2 separate regions of the Homo sapiens genome follow, and region 1 is linked to region 2. Evidence: promoter capture Hi-C in 16 types of primary human blood cells and fetal thymus (Javierre and others, 2016). All regions are on one chromosome and are shown on one strand. Each heading gives the region's core, a stretch centred on a gene start or on the middle of the fragment in contact. The rest is flanking DNA. Distances are from core to core; before and after follow the strand shown.

Region 1 (7,254 bases), core at 4,597-7,096, 3.1 Mb before region 2:
AGGTGCACACTCCCCAGCTCTTCACACCATTTAAAGGATTCTGCCCAAACTGCCAACCATGTGTTACAAATAAAGCCCTTCCCGAAAATGGATCAAAAACACTTTGTAATGAGTGAAGGAGCTGGTTTAAAAAGGGCCAACATCAAACAAAATCCCAGTCCTGAGTCACAGACACTCAAATAGCCCCTTCCAGGGTGGGAATGTCCTCCAAAGCACTTCCATTTGTGTGAGTAGTTCTTCAAGCCAACGTATCCAAATACATACATCTGATGAGCGGACTTTGCTTGTTTACATACATTATGTACATTCCTTTGATAGTCAATTGTCTAAAGTTGGAACAGTTCGGAGGGAAGAGCTATATAAGGTTTGCAATGATCTTTGTCCACCAGTTACTGGACAACTGGATCCAAATTCCACAAATAGCTGTGGTTCTTTACCTGCATGGTTCTCCTCCCCTGAGACATCCAGTGCCATGCATTTTCTCTTGCAGGTCTTTCCTTGCATCACCCCTCCAACCCCAGCAGATATCCTGGCTGAGCCTGTTTTCTCTGTGAGGGGCTACACTGCACACTGGGGCTCTTGAAAAGGGCTTGCTGGGCTGGGCACGGTGGCTCACGCCTGTAATCCTGACACTTTGGTAGGCCGAGGTGGGTGGATCACCTGAGGTCAGGTGTTCAAGATCAGCCTGGCCAATATGGTGAAACCCCGTCTCTACTAAAAATACAGAAAAATTAGCTGGGCATGGTGGTGTGCACCTGTAATCCCAGCTACTCAGGAGGCTGAGGCAGGAGAATCACTTGAACCCGGGAGGCAGAGGTTCCAGTGAGCCAAGATGGCACCATTGTACTTCAGCCTAGGCGACAGAGAGAGACTCCAATTCAAAAAAAGAAAAAGAGAAAAAAAAAAAAAAGAAAAAAAAGAAAGGGCTTCCTGCAGGGACAGTCAGTGCAGGAAAGGGCCTCTTTCGTACTCCCACTGCCCCTACGCATCTCCTGGGTAGAGGTCGCTGCTCCAGAGAGCAAACTATTTCCTCATCTGTGTGCCATTCCACTACAAGCCCCACAGGGGCCTGCAACGAGTCCCATAAATCCATCTCCAGGCCCTGCACCCACAAACTGGCAAAGGAAGTTTCAGGAAAAGTCTTTCTAATAGGAGTCTGTGGGCTGCCTCTGGTTCGTTTCTTTAGGAATTCTCCTCCATGCCCTTCTTGACACAAAAGGGCCTGAAGGGTTCCAGTTCTCAACAGGAGCTCCCAGGGGCTCCTGGCAGGAGGATGTTCTGCCTCTTTGGAGGAAAGCAAGAGCTAAGGAGCCCCTCCTGTTTTAGTTGCACCTCCATCCCCTTTCTCCACCCTGCACCATTCCCTTACCCTCTATGTGAGGCAAAGCCTGAAGTCCCTCCTTCCCGCCCTCTCTCCTGCCCACTAGTAGATTACACTCCCTGCTGCAGTTACACCATGATGCCTCTGCCATGCTGACAACTAGTGTCACACAGGAGCGTAATCAGAAGCACCTGGCATTCAACCCCGGTACCGATGGCCCCCACCTTTTCATTTCAGGCTTCTTCCTCCAGAGTGCTTGAGGCTCCCTGGCCTCCTGGCCTCTCCCAGGTCCAAGGCGCTGACTCCAGCTCTTGGCTCCAACATTTACAGGAACACTGGGACTAAGAAAATCAATTGTGTTAATCAGCAAAACCCTCCACTTGAGATGCTATCCTAAAAGCAAACTATATGTAAAACACTTAACGTGGGGAGCTCTGTAATATGTTTCTTTTGTTACACGACCATCACACATTTGTCCGGAGTTTGGGGCTTTCAAACCACATAAGGTTTTATGTGATCGTTATAAAATCCCTTCATTTCCCAAAGGTAGGGTAGTAAGGATTAAGTTTGACTACTGAAGGCAGCTTTGTTGTAAGTGGTCTCTAATGTCACAAAAGTAGCTTGGGAAGACAGGCTTATTAAACAAATTTCTTGGGTTGCAAATCATTAGAAGCAATCGCATGTCATGTTCATTTGCTTAACCCGAAAGGTATCCATTTGGATGTTTAAAGAAACTATGCAGATTAACATTGTTCCCAGTGCCCACAAGAAAGCTGGCTGATCTTAAAGGAAATCCAGGGAGCTCCTTGAGGAAGTCGGACTGCAGTTGAGCATACCCTTTTGTGGTTTTCCCACCTCTTTTGTAAAAAGTTCTTCATAGGAATCTGTGTCTGGAGGAAAAGGGGTTGTGATTTGTTAATCTGAAGATGGGAGACCTCAAAGGAATCTCACCCAACCAGTCCTGCACTGTCATCCTATGAACAGAGAAGTCAGGTGGTTGCTCAGTGAGGGGCAGGGCTGGCACCACATCCGAGCCTCCCTGTCCTGTGTTCCTTACTCTTCAGTGGACCCGGCGACCTCCCGGCTTTGGAGCCATCCTGTGTTCCTTTAACAGTAGGACGAACACACAGGCGATGATGAGATTGTAATGGGACAAGGGGGAGAGGCGTGGGGAGCTCTTGATGAAAACTTGGGTTTTTGAAATTACCATGATGAAGGGAGGAGCTTGCACCAGCAGGTGTAAGGAGTGTGAGTTTGAGTTCTGCTCATCAGACAGCCTAAGCAGTCACATCCTTGAATCCTGGTCTTTTGCAGGCCAGTCCTTGGTCAGGTGGTGGCCTTTTTCCTCTTTCCCCTCTGCACTGAGACCCTTATTTGGCTCCTGATCCTGGAGCCCCTGACACAGTCCTTACCACTGAAGTAGCTGTGGCCCTTCACATAGTTCTTCCCACCACGCCAGCAAGGGGACTGAGTTCTTTCAGTACAGCCAGGGCCAGGTCCACACATCTCCCTGGGAAGCCAGCACTTTCTCTCGTGGACCGCCTCCCCATTCCCACAGGGCCCTCCTAAAGGGCCTTTGGATGACCACATTGGCCTTTCTTTCCTAGGGTGGGGAATTAGAGATGCTAAGACTGGCCAGTCTCTTTTTCTTAAGAGTTTAGGGATTCGTCTTAAAATATTATTCAGATAAACGTATGAGTCATGTGTTAACTGCAAAACTACTTAACAGCACACTTGTTAGAATATCAGTCGGCACTCTGATTCCATTTCGGCATTGTTTTTCCTTTGGTTCTATTAAGATCCCGGTTCTAACTGGGTCCTGGTAGTAACAGGCTGTAAGTGGCCAGGTGTATAGCATTATTTCTTAGTAGTGTGGTGTGGTGCTGGTGGTTTATTTTCCCTATGCACACATGCCCTAATATGGAAGGATAGTTTGTACACACGTAGGGTACGTTATCATGAGACTCCTTTACAGAGTATGAAACTGAGGATTAGAGAAGTCAGACGAGTTTCCCGAAGTCTTATAGAAGGCTAATGGAAAAAACCAGAGCCAAGGGCAAACATGTTTCATCTGTCCTTCCACATTAGTTTAAATGTGAATGGCTGCTTGGAACACAGTGTTGAGAAGGATTCCGAGGCTGTGTCCAGGTTCAGTGGGGAAAAAGTGCCTTGATTTGACCATTATATCGTGTACTCAGGGCCTAGTTTATTTCCCACAAGCAGCTATTTAAAACATGTCTCATCCAAGGCAGGGTCGGGGTGGGGAACCTCAGAGGATCAATGATGCAGCCTGTATTGTCACCAGGGCTCATCCCAAAGCAAATCCTGCTGAAGTTCTCCTCTGAACAACCCTTATCACTCATGCTAATATGTTGGATCCTGCAAGTCACAAATACGAAGGTATGAGCATTGGCCGAATCCCAACAGGGAAACTTCACCGGGAAGGTGAAGACCCCTTTCCATTAAGATAACAAACAGAACCTAGAAGGCCCGTAGCATGGTGGCTTAGAACATGTGGGCCTTGGATGGGATCCTGCCAAGGGGTGTGTGACCTCTCCGAAGCCTCCAGGGATGATACTACTCCCTGGGGTGCTTATGCCAACCACGTTAGAGACAATGGTTTCTGTACCCATTGCCTGGGGCTGCCATAATAAAGTGCCACACACTGAGTGGCTTAAAACAACAGAAACCTATTGTCTCACACTTCCGGGGGCCAGAAGTTTGAAACCCAGGTGTGTTAGGATCCTGCTCCCTCTGAAGGCTCCAGGGAAGAGTGTCCTCTGCTCCCTCCGAAGGCTCCAGGGAAGGGTCTGTCCTCTTAGGCTTCTGGTGGCTTGCAGGTGCAGCCCTCCAATCCTCCTCCCCAAGCGGCCTTCTGCCTATAAGGACACGAGTCATACTGGATGAGGGGCCCACTAATTGATGGCTTCTGTAAAGTCCCCATCTCCAAATAAGGTCACATTGTGAGGTACTGGGAGTTAGGACTCCAACATAGCTTCTCTGGTGGACACAATTCAACTCCTAATAACGTCCACACAACCCCAAGCAGGGCCTGGCACCCTGTGTGCTCTCTGGAGAGCGGCTGAGTCAGGCTCTGGCAGTGTCTAGGCCATCGGTGACTGCAGCCCCTGGACGGCATCGCCCACCACAGGCCCTGGAGGCTGCCCCCACGGCCCCCTGACAGGGTCTCTGCTGGTCTGGGGGTCCCTGACTAGGGGAGCGGCACCAGGAGGGGAGAGACTCGCGCTCCGGGCTCAGCGTAGCCGCCCCGAGCAGGACCGGGATTCTCACTAAGCGGGCGCCGTCCTACGACCCCCGCGCGCTTTCAGGACCACTCGGGCACGTGGCAGGTCGCTTGCACGCCCGCGGACTATCCCTGTGACAGGAAAAGGTACGGGCCATTTGGCAAACTAAGGCACAGAGCCTCAGGCGGAAGCTGGGAAGGCGCCGCCCGGCTTGTACCGGCCGAAGGGCCATCCGGGTCAGGCGCACAGGGCAGCGGCGCTGCCGGAGGACCAGGGCCGGCGTGCCGGCGTCCAGCGAGGATGCGCAGACTGCCTCAGGCCCGGCGCCGCCGCACAGGGCATGCGCCGACCCGGTCGGGCGGGAACACCCCGCCCCTCCCGGGCTCCGCCCCAGCTCCGCCCCCGCGCGCCCCGGCCCCGCCCCCGCGCGCTCTCTTGCTTTTCTCAGGTCCTCGGCTCCGCCCCGCTCTAGACCCCGCCCCACGCCGCCATCCCCGTGCCCCTCGGCCCCGCCCCCGCGCCCCGGATATGCTGGGACAGCCCGCGCCCCTAGAACGCTTTGCGTCCCGACGCCCGCAGGTCCTCGCGGTGCGCACCGTTTGCGACTTGGTGAGTGTCTGGGTCGCCTCGCTCCCGGAAGAGTGCGGAGCTCTCCCTCGGGACGGTGGCAGCCTCGAGTGGTCCTGCAGGCGCCCTCACTTCGCCGTCGGGTGTGGGGCCGCCCTGACCCCCACCCATCCCGGGCGAGCTCCAGGTGCGCCCCAAGTGCCTCCCAGGTGTTGCCCAGCCTTTCCCCGGGCCTGGGGTTCCTGGACTAGGCTGCGCTGCAGTGACTGTGGACTGGCGTGTGGCGGGGGTCGTGGCAGCCCCTGCCTTACCTCTAGGTGCCAGCCCCAGGCCCGGGCCCCGGGTTCTTCCTACCCTTCCATGCTGCCAGCTTTCCCTCCGCCAGCTGCTCCAGGAAGCTTCCAGAAGCCCCTGCGCGGGCCTTGGCTTGCAGCAACCCTTTAGCATACTTAGGCAGAGTCCCATATTTCCTTCCTGCTGGAGGCCAAGTTCTAGGGGCCTTCTGGTTACTATGGCTGGTGTTTGTGTACATCATACCCTAACTGTATTCATCAACACTTAGAGTAAGCAAGGCTCGCTGGAGAGCCACACACACTGGGCACCGTAATGTCGGTTATAACACCGCAGAGGAGTTCTGAACTATGTATTTCGCACTCCTGGGTTCATCATCTCCTGAAATCTCAGGGTGGTGTTTGCTCTCAGTTGCTTCAGCTGAGTAGCTGGCTTTCTGTCCTGGAAAGCAGACTTTGTACATGTGTGTGCAACCTATGCCTGCTGAGATCATCATCAGACAGGGAAGCGGCTTGGTCCAGAGAGCTGTTCTCAGTAGAATGTTAAGCACAGAGAGCTGAGAATTAGACTGGTTATTTACATAGACATCCAAATAGAAACCTATAGAGTATCTGTTAAGTCAGGCTCTCCCGTCATCTCCCCCATCCCTGGGCAGGTGTCTAGGAGATGGTTTTGTTATTTTCAGGGCCCTCTCAATGGCTAAAACACTCTGGGAGATGAACAAGATTTTAAAAACCCAAAGCTTAGCGCACCTGGTGGGTGGGGGTGTGAAAACTTTGAAGGAAACCGCGTCAAGAGCCTGGCTGATTGTTAATATCACGTTAACTCAGAGGGCCAGGATACTTGCCCAGACCCGGAGTCTGCCTGCAAGTAGCAGAGGAGAGCTGGCCTTGCTCTGCCGCGTGTCTTTCTTCCTGGGCCCTCTGTCTCGGGTTGGAATTTGAATAGTGGAGTAGTGTCTGCCACAGTCAGGGGCCTGGATGAAGTAGACCACCAGTACGGAGCTATACTCAGGTACTTTTCAATGTATATATCTTCATTAAAAAAAAAAAATCTGGGCCAGGCACAGTGGGTCACGCCTGTAATCTCAGCACTTTGGGAGGCCGAGGTGGGTGGATCACCTGAAGTCAGGAGTTTGAGACCAGCCTGGCCAACATGGTGAAACCCAGTTTCTACTAAAAACACAAAAATTATCCAGGCGTGGTGGTGCATGCTGGTAATCCCAGTTACTTGGGAGACTGAGGCAGGAGAATTGCTTGAACCTGGGAGGCGGAGGTTGCAGTGAGCCGAGATTGCGCCATTGCACTCCAACCTGGGCGACGAGAGTGAAACTGTCCTGAAGGGGAAACAAAAAAATCTGTATCAAAATAAGGATTTAACTAATAGTATTAGGCACTACTTTAAAAAGGCTTTGCTGTTAGTAAGGTTGAAAGAAATAGAGCCCTAGGTATACATTGGGTAGCACCTTGTTCAGCTGCTCAGATTCTTGAACCTTGTTGAGGTCTTACTTTGATATCACCTGGGCCTTACTTTTCGTTGTTTGGGTTTCCTCCCCAGGTGTCTCAATCAGGGCCTCCTCTGTCCTTTTGCAGGGAAGAAGGGGGTAGGAAGGGCCTGAAAAAGAACTTGCCTTCCCCATTGCCCCCTCAGAGTTTGTTCCTCTCCAGTCCTCTTCCCACCCTTTCTTAGGACACCAAAACCCTGACTCTTTCAGTATTTTATAATAAAATAAAGTTACTAAATTGTCTGTTCTGTTTTGCAGAGGACACACATTTAGGAGCCAGTGATTCAGACCTTCCATTTTTCTTTTTGGTGCTAATGCTCTTTTCA
Region 2 (7,088 bases), core at 2,682-5,181:
GGGAGGGAAGAGCAGGAATGCCACAGATGCCAGGGCAAGGCTCACTTCCAAGAGGCAGCCAGTGGTCAACCGTATTGGAAGGTCAGCTGCAATCAGGCCTGGGGGGCTGGCCCTTGAATTAGGATGCCCCATGGGGTGTGGGCATGAGAAGCACAATTCGAGGGCCTGGACAAGAGTGGTCCATTGGCATGCGGGGCAGAGATGGGCAGACTTTTAGGACAAGGTTTGCAGCAAGGAGAGCAGAGAGGGGGGAGGAAAATGGAGGGGCACAGGCTGGAGGCTTCCAGAGATCTGAGAGACCGCAGCATGCTTGTGAACTGCCGACGTGACCCAGGAGGGGGTGGCCTTGGGCGGGGACAGGCACCTCATTCCATGTAGCAGCATGGAGGATGTGCAGGACAGACACCAGATGCTGGATGTGTTGACTTAGTGGCGTGATCACAGTCAGAATCCAAATGGAGTCACTGGTATTAAAAACCCTGACATATAGACTGTGGAAGGGCATGAAGGGAGGGTTCTTATGCAGACATGCTTGATAGCAAGAACAATCACAAAAGACTGCAAAAATCACAGCCGTGCACAAAGACCATCACAACTTACACACACAAACACTTCTGGGAAGACATCTGCCCAGTAGCTGCCTGTCCAGCCTCAGACTGGCACCATCCTTCCTGGAGATCCTTGTAGCCAAGGATCATTGATTCAAAACAATGATGTAATCCTCCTGTTTCCTTTGAAAATCTTTGTCTTCCTTTACCTTCCTTGACCCACACCCAATTTACGATGGCACACATATTCTATTGCAATGAATGTTCCCGAGTAAATCTCATTTTCTTTTAGAGAGCCTCTCTCTGTTATTTAGGGTGACAGTGGGAAAATCCCAGACTGCAAATCCTTCCTCAACAAAGGGCAAACGTTTCCTCCAGGGAGCGTAGTTGGTGGTTAGAGAAGGGGAAGGCTGCAGTGGCCTCTTGGAGTGGTGGAGTGCACATGCGCAGAGCCAGGAGGCCTAGTGCTCAACGTGGGTGTGCCTGAGACCTGGGAGATGCCAGGGGCATGGAAATAAGGTGTTGTCTAGTTTTTCCCCCAATTTAGTTTTCTCTAATTTGGGCGCAGGTTCACTGTAAGCAAGTAAATCAGTCCTGGGGGCCAGCTGGGTGAGTGCTGGGGGGCAGGGAGAGGGGAGGGAGTGGGTACACAAAGTGATTCTACCCTCAGAGAGAAGCAGAGTAAGGCAGGAAGAAGAGGTGTGCACATGCGTGGTCATGTGTGCACGTGTGCATGTTCGTGCATGCGCATGTGCAGATGTGTGTGCGTGCAAGTGCATGCGTGTGCATGTGTTTCTGTGTGGGTGTGCACGTGTGGCGGTGGCTAACGAAGGCATGGGAGCAGCATGGGCTGTAGGTTTCCATGAGGTCCCACGGAAGTGAAACCAAAGGAGAGGAGGTGGTGGGGAGGGCAAGGTGCCTGGATTCGGCCTTGGTGTGGTCATTGGTGATGAGAACATCCAGGCTATGCCCAGGGCCGTGGATGCAGAAGTGGGAGGTCCAGGCCGCACCCCCTTGGGTTCTGGAGGTTCTGGTAATGAGCACGGAATATAGGAGGCAGGAGAACTGTGAGGGGCTGAACCTGTGGTGGGTGAGGGGTGCATGGGAAAGAGGAGGTGGCTGCCTGGAGGAAGGGCAGAGGCCAACGTCCAGGCATGGCAGGAGCTGGCTGGCGAGGAGAGGAGGAGGGGGGAGCAGGGAGGGCACAAGGGGTGGGGGACGCTGCCTCAGCCGGGTGTGAGGGCACAGCCTGCGGGGAGAAGTGAGGAGGCAATGTCCCTTCTCAGAAAGCACGTTCCAGGGATCAGTGACACCCCCACATTTGGTTTCTACTAAGGGTACCCTTAGCATGTGCTGATTTTGTTAAAAAGAAAAATAAGCGACTACATCAGTCAGCTTCAGCTGCTGTAGCGAAATATCACAGGCTGGGAGGCTGAAACAAGACTTTTACTTCTCACAGTTCTGGGGGCTGGAAATCCAAGATCAAGTTCCAGCAGCGTTGGATTTCTGGTGCAGGGTTTGTGGCTGGCTGGGGTGAAGCTTCCCACTGTGCACTCACACTGCCACTTCTTTTGCACATGTAAGGGTGGGGACAGCACTGAGCCCTTTCTATTAAACACTAGCCCTATTGCACGACTTAACATTAAACACCAGCCCTACTGCACGACTTAACATTAATTACCCCCGCTAGCCCACCTCCGAATACAGTCACATTGGAGGTTAGGGCTTCAACCCATGAATTTGCGGGGTGGGGTGGGGTGGGGCGGGCGGAATTCAGTCTGTAGCAGGCACCTACTGACTAAAGTAGACATTGGTTTATACATCAAATGGATTTTGCTGGAGTCCTGCTCAGCGGTGGCCGTAAGGAGGAACCCTGGGGGTGTTAACACAAGCCAGTGATGCGGCCTCAGCACAGGCCTGGGGCCCGAGCCTGCAGCACCATTCCTGCCGCCCCGCCCTGGCAGCAGGTGTCTTCCTAGAACAGAACAAGCCCCTTTTGATGTCATTGGGCATTGCCTTGGCGGTTTACTCAGAAGCTGGAGGCTAGCCTCGCTAGAGCCCATTGCCAGGCCCTGACCGCCCCTAAATCTGTGTCCACAAAATCCTCCGGAGTGCCTGCTCCGCATGGTGGCCACTGGCCACACAGGGCTGCTGAGCACTGGAAGCGGCCTTGTGAGCTGCTGCCAAGAGGCAGGTGCCCGTGCAAAGCCTTCCTGTGAAGGAATCTCACTGAGGTTGTTAAATTCTGGTTACATGTTGAATGATGTATCTATCTATTGGGTTAAGTAAAACGTATTGTTAACTTTGGCTATTACTTGTTACCTTTAAAAAATGTAGCTACTGGAAGCTTTAAGATGACAAATGTGGTTCTCCTCCTCCATCTACAGGCATGTCCCGGTTCACGGCGGCTGTGTCCCCGCGGCCTCAGACCCAGGGTCCAGCCCATGCTCTGGCCCCTCCGGCGGCCAGGATCAGCATCGCTGCCCCGGGGCCCGCGCCGAGCCGGCTGCTCCTCCGTGCTCTGCGCTCCTGGGCCCGCACCAGCCCCCTCCCCTGGAGCCCCCTTCGTCCCTGCGAGGGTTCCCTGCACGCCCCGCGCTGAGACCCAGCCTGGCCCGGGCCGGAGCCCTCCGCGACGTCAGGATGCGCCTGGCCTCACGCCGCCTCCCCTCCGTCTTCTCTGGGCCGCAGCCGCTCCTCGTGAGTGAGGTCGCGGCCAGGGAGCCGGGTGGACGCGCCGGGAAGCTGCACGGTCCACGCTCCGTCTGCGCGGAGAGCCGGGCGCGCGTGGCCCGGCCCCTGCAGGCGCGACTGCCGCCGCCCCGGTGGGCTCCCCTCCCCCGCACGCCCGGCACGCGGCTGGACGACTGCGGCCGCGCGGGGGCTGGAACATCCCCTCAGAGCCGCAAGAGAGCGCACCCGCCGCCGGCGCCCGGAACCCAGGGCCCCTTTAAGAGGCGCCGCCGGAGCAGGGCCGTGACGTCATAGAAGTGCGAAGGGCGGAGTCTGTGCGCAGCCGCGGCGCGGGGGGCGGGGCGGGGGCGCGGCGTTCTTGCGGGCCTGACTGACAGGAGCGCCCTCCGGGAGCGACCAGTACTAGGCCGCCGGTCGCAAGAGCGCCCCGCGTAGGCCCCGCCCCGAAAGGAGGCCCCGCCCCGGGGCAGGCCCCGCCTCCACAAGGACACCAAGTCCCGCACAAGCCACGCCCCCCGCAGGCCCCGCCCCACTCTGTTCAGATCTAGGCCCAACTCAGGCTCCGCACCTCAAGGCTCCGCCCCCAGCAAGGCTCCGCCCCAGGCCCGGCTCCACCCCGCACAGGCCCCACCCCGAGTCAGGCTCCGCCCCGCCCAGGCCCCGCCCCGGGCTCGGCTCCGCGGGGCGGGACTTGCCCTCAGCCTGAGTCGGCGGCGGCTGCGGGAACTTTCCCAGCGGATCTAATGGCTGCGCGCGGGCCGCTGTGAGGCGCGGCGGCGAGCGACGGGCGCGGGGCCGCGGAGCAGCGAGCGAGCGAGCGAGCGCGAGGCCGGAGCCCCGGCCAGGCCCGGCCGACCCGCCGAGCCCGCGATGCGCCCCGGGGCCGCCCCCCGGCGCAGCTGACGCCCCGCGGCCCCGCGAAGACCCCGGCCGGCCGGTCCCGGAGGAAGCGGCCGCCGCCGCCGCCGCCCAGCCCAGCGCCCGCGCCGCCCGGGCACCATGGCGGGGAAGGCGGCCGCCCCGGGCACCGCGGTGCTGCTGGTCACGGCCAACGTGGGCTCGCTCTTCGACGACGTAAGTCCCCCGTGCCGGCGGCAGGCCCCAAGCCCGGAACCCCCGACCCTGACCCCGGGGTCCCGAACTGCAAGCCTTGGACCCTGGACCGTGAACCTCCAGACCCAGAGGCCCCAGACTCTGATCCCTGTACCCGGGACCCCAGACTCCTGTCCTGATTCCCAAGTCTGGGAGCCCAGACCCCTGTCTTGATCCCCAAGCCCGAGACCTGAAGACCTGGGCCCTGAATCCCCGAACCCCATCCTCCAGACTCCAGCAGCTGACCGTTGACCCTGGGACCCTGCCTCTGAACTCCTGTCTGCAAATCCTGACCTCGAAACTCCAATATTAAAACCCTGTCAGAACCCCTGTTAACAGTTCCTGGAACCCAAACCCCAGAAACCGGGTCTGTGCGCACCAAACCCAGCCCCAGCCCTGATTTCCGAATCCTCAGAACCCTGGCCCTGGAATGCCCATCCCCAACCCTGGCCCTGAACCCCAGGTCCATGGTCACTGGAACCACAAATCCTGACTGCAGAACTCTGGTTACAGAACCTGCTCTCAAACGTCTGTCTCTGGTCCCTGAGCCCTGGACCCCAAACCCTGAAACATAACCACAAACCCTAACCCAGGAACTTCTGACACAGGGCTGTGGCCCCAACCTCCTGTCCCTGTTCCCCAATCACTGAATTCTAGCCCTAGAATCCCAGCCTTCATACTGTGGCCCTTTGCCTCTAAAGCCAATCTAGCCTGACTCTGAACCCTGAATTTCAACCTCAGGCCCCAGCTTATGGCCCTGAACACTTGTCCTTGACCCCTGAACCTGGAACCCTGGTTCCAGAATCAGGCCCCAAACCCAATTCTGGACCCTGCCCCTAACTCTGGTTCCTAGATCCCATCCTTGGCCCCTTCCTCCAACAAGCTCCTGCCCCTGAATCCTGAATCCTGAATCCTGGTCTTAAAGCCTGGGCCTTGAGCCTGCAGAATTCCCAAACCCTAACCCTTGACTCCCACCCCTGGCCCCTGTCCTCTGAGCCTAGGCCCTCCACTCTGGCTGTCAGCCCCAGCTCCTGGATGCCTGGGTGCCGGCCTCACTGTCTGTCTGTCCCTGCAGGGCCAGAGGGTAGGGTGCCCCCATTTAACCCTGCCACTTAGTATCTCTTTAGTTCGTAAATAAGGGAAGTCTGTAAAGCACTGTAGGACTTTATATTTCTTGTTTATTGAAGAAAAAGATGCTGAGAAGCTCTTCAGGGCCAGAAAGGGGATGCTGACTGCCTATGGCCTTTACCTTCTAGGGCCCCTCCCACCCAAGCCTCATTCCCACCCAGGATCCCAGGGTGCCCCCATCTCTGGAGAGACCAGGGAGCTGAGGCCCAGGGCGCACTGGGAGCTCCCCAGAGGCAGGCCGGTCTGACCTAGTTTGGCGTTTCAGCCACGGTGCCACCCTGCTGTTGGTACTCCTGCTGCCAACCCAAATAAAGCAGAGTGAGGCTCCAAGTGGCCCAGATGGAGGCCGTGGAGCCACGGACGCTCCCTCCCTCCCTCCCTCCCTCCCTAGGTGAACAGTGGGGCACCGCACCAGCTTTATGACGGATGTGTGCCACTGATGCACGCGTGGTTTCCATTTCAGGAGGAGGTCTTGTGTCTTTGCTGGCAGCAAGCATGGGTGAAGTGTTTGATGAAGCTCAGTTCATGCACAGGCTAGGTTTGGTTTTTATTAACAAAAGGCGCTGTTTTTCTGTTTTTCTTATTTTAACTTCCAGGTGCCCATGTATTATACTGACCTGCTGGGGAGGAACTGGTTTTCCTCACACTTTATTATTAACAACTTCATCTAGGTTTATGTTTGATCATTTTCTACAAAAGTGCCTGGCATGGGTGTGTGTCTGTATATTTGGCGTTCTATTCTAGGCTTTCCAGTAACATGTCACTATAGCATGGTTTTGTTCAGATGATTCAGATCCGTTAGCTGCGGCTTCAAAGCCTCAGAAATGTCAGGAGCATTAAGCTTGCTGGGGCATTTTAGTCTCAAAGGGAAACGAGTTTTACTGTGCAGACATTCTTTCCAGTAATCTTTGATTCTGAGTTCTAGCATTTTTGTTGTGTTTCAATTGTATACACGTATTTATCTCTGTTGATATTAAATTGGGTAACTTAATTCACTTTTGTTTAGCAACCTATTCTCTCTGAATTTTCATTTTTCTTAAAGGCTATGTGGAATTTTGCATTATGTTTATGTTTAGAAGGAACATTTGTTTAGGTCAACAGTACATAGGTTAATTCTGAAAGGTGCATTGTGATTTCAGGGCTGAGTGGAAACTTATCTGTCCGTGTCTGAAGATTTCTTAATGTGTGCAGCTCAGTCCCCGGGGGCCAGACCCAGTCTCCTTCAGTGGAAACCAGCCAGGCACTCACATTCCCAGGCCCCCTTCCTTGGTTGAGGTTTGGGGTGTGGTACTTGTGGGCCAGAAGCCTGGCCGGTGGAAGGAAATTCATGAGTGAAGGAAGTTTTGGTTTCTTGGTTTGTCCTGGATTTCAGGGGACCTGCTTTGAGATTCTGTTTGCCTTTGTGCAGCCCGTCCCGTGCTGACGAACGCACCCTGCAGGCAGTGCTCAGGCTGTGAAGGAATCTTTCTCGCCCAGTCTCACCGTGTTGGAAGCCAAGCTCGTCTGTGACCAGTGCTGGAGCCGGTCACAGTTCCGAGGAGGAAGGTGTTTGAATCTGAAGCAGATATCCCGGACTGTGGCGGACTCTGTTTTCCTTTTGTGCACAAGTGATAGGTGGTTTGCTTT

The links. Contacts are between HindIII fragments. The CHiCAGO score rates a contact against its expected background, and 5 or more counts as called.
Region 1: a fragment that was not itself captured here is called in contact with the fragment with the promoter of INPP5A in region 2 in 1 of 17 cell types (fetal thymus); the score reaches 5.0 in fetal thymus.

Annotation. Positions count from the first base shown.
Region 1 is chr10:129,462,122-129,469,375 of GRCh38, forward strand. It overlaps MGMT (O-6-methylguanine-DNA methyltransferase), which reads left to right and starts at 5,120. Exons shown (of 5, transcript NM_002412.5): 1 at 5,120-5,175. RefSeq lists silencers at 4,760-5,199, 5,220-5,419 and an enhancer at 4,986-5,908. The HindIII fragment of the contact is 635 bases long and covers 5,530-6,164 here.
Region 2 is chr10:132,533,856-132,540,943 of GRCh38, forward strand. It overlaps INPP5A (inositol polyphosphate-5-phosphatase A), which reads left to right and starts at 3,932. Exons shown (of 16, transcript NM_005539.5): 1 at 3,932-4,316. The coding sequence starts at 4,242. It overlaps LOC107984282 (a long non-coding RNA gene), which reads right to left and starts at 3,068. Exons shown (of 4, transcript NR_158224.1): 1 at 2,871-3,068. RefSeq lists a silencer at 2,953-4,052 and enhancers at 4,833-4,882, 6,889-7,088. The HindIII fragment of the contact is 3,408 bases long and covers 2,894-6,301 here.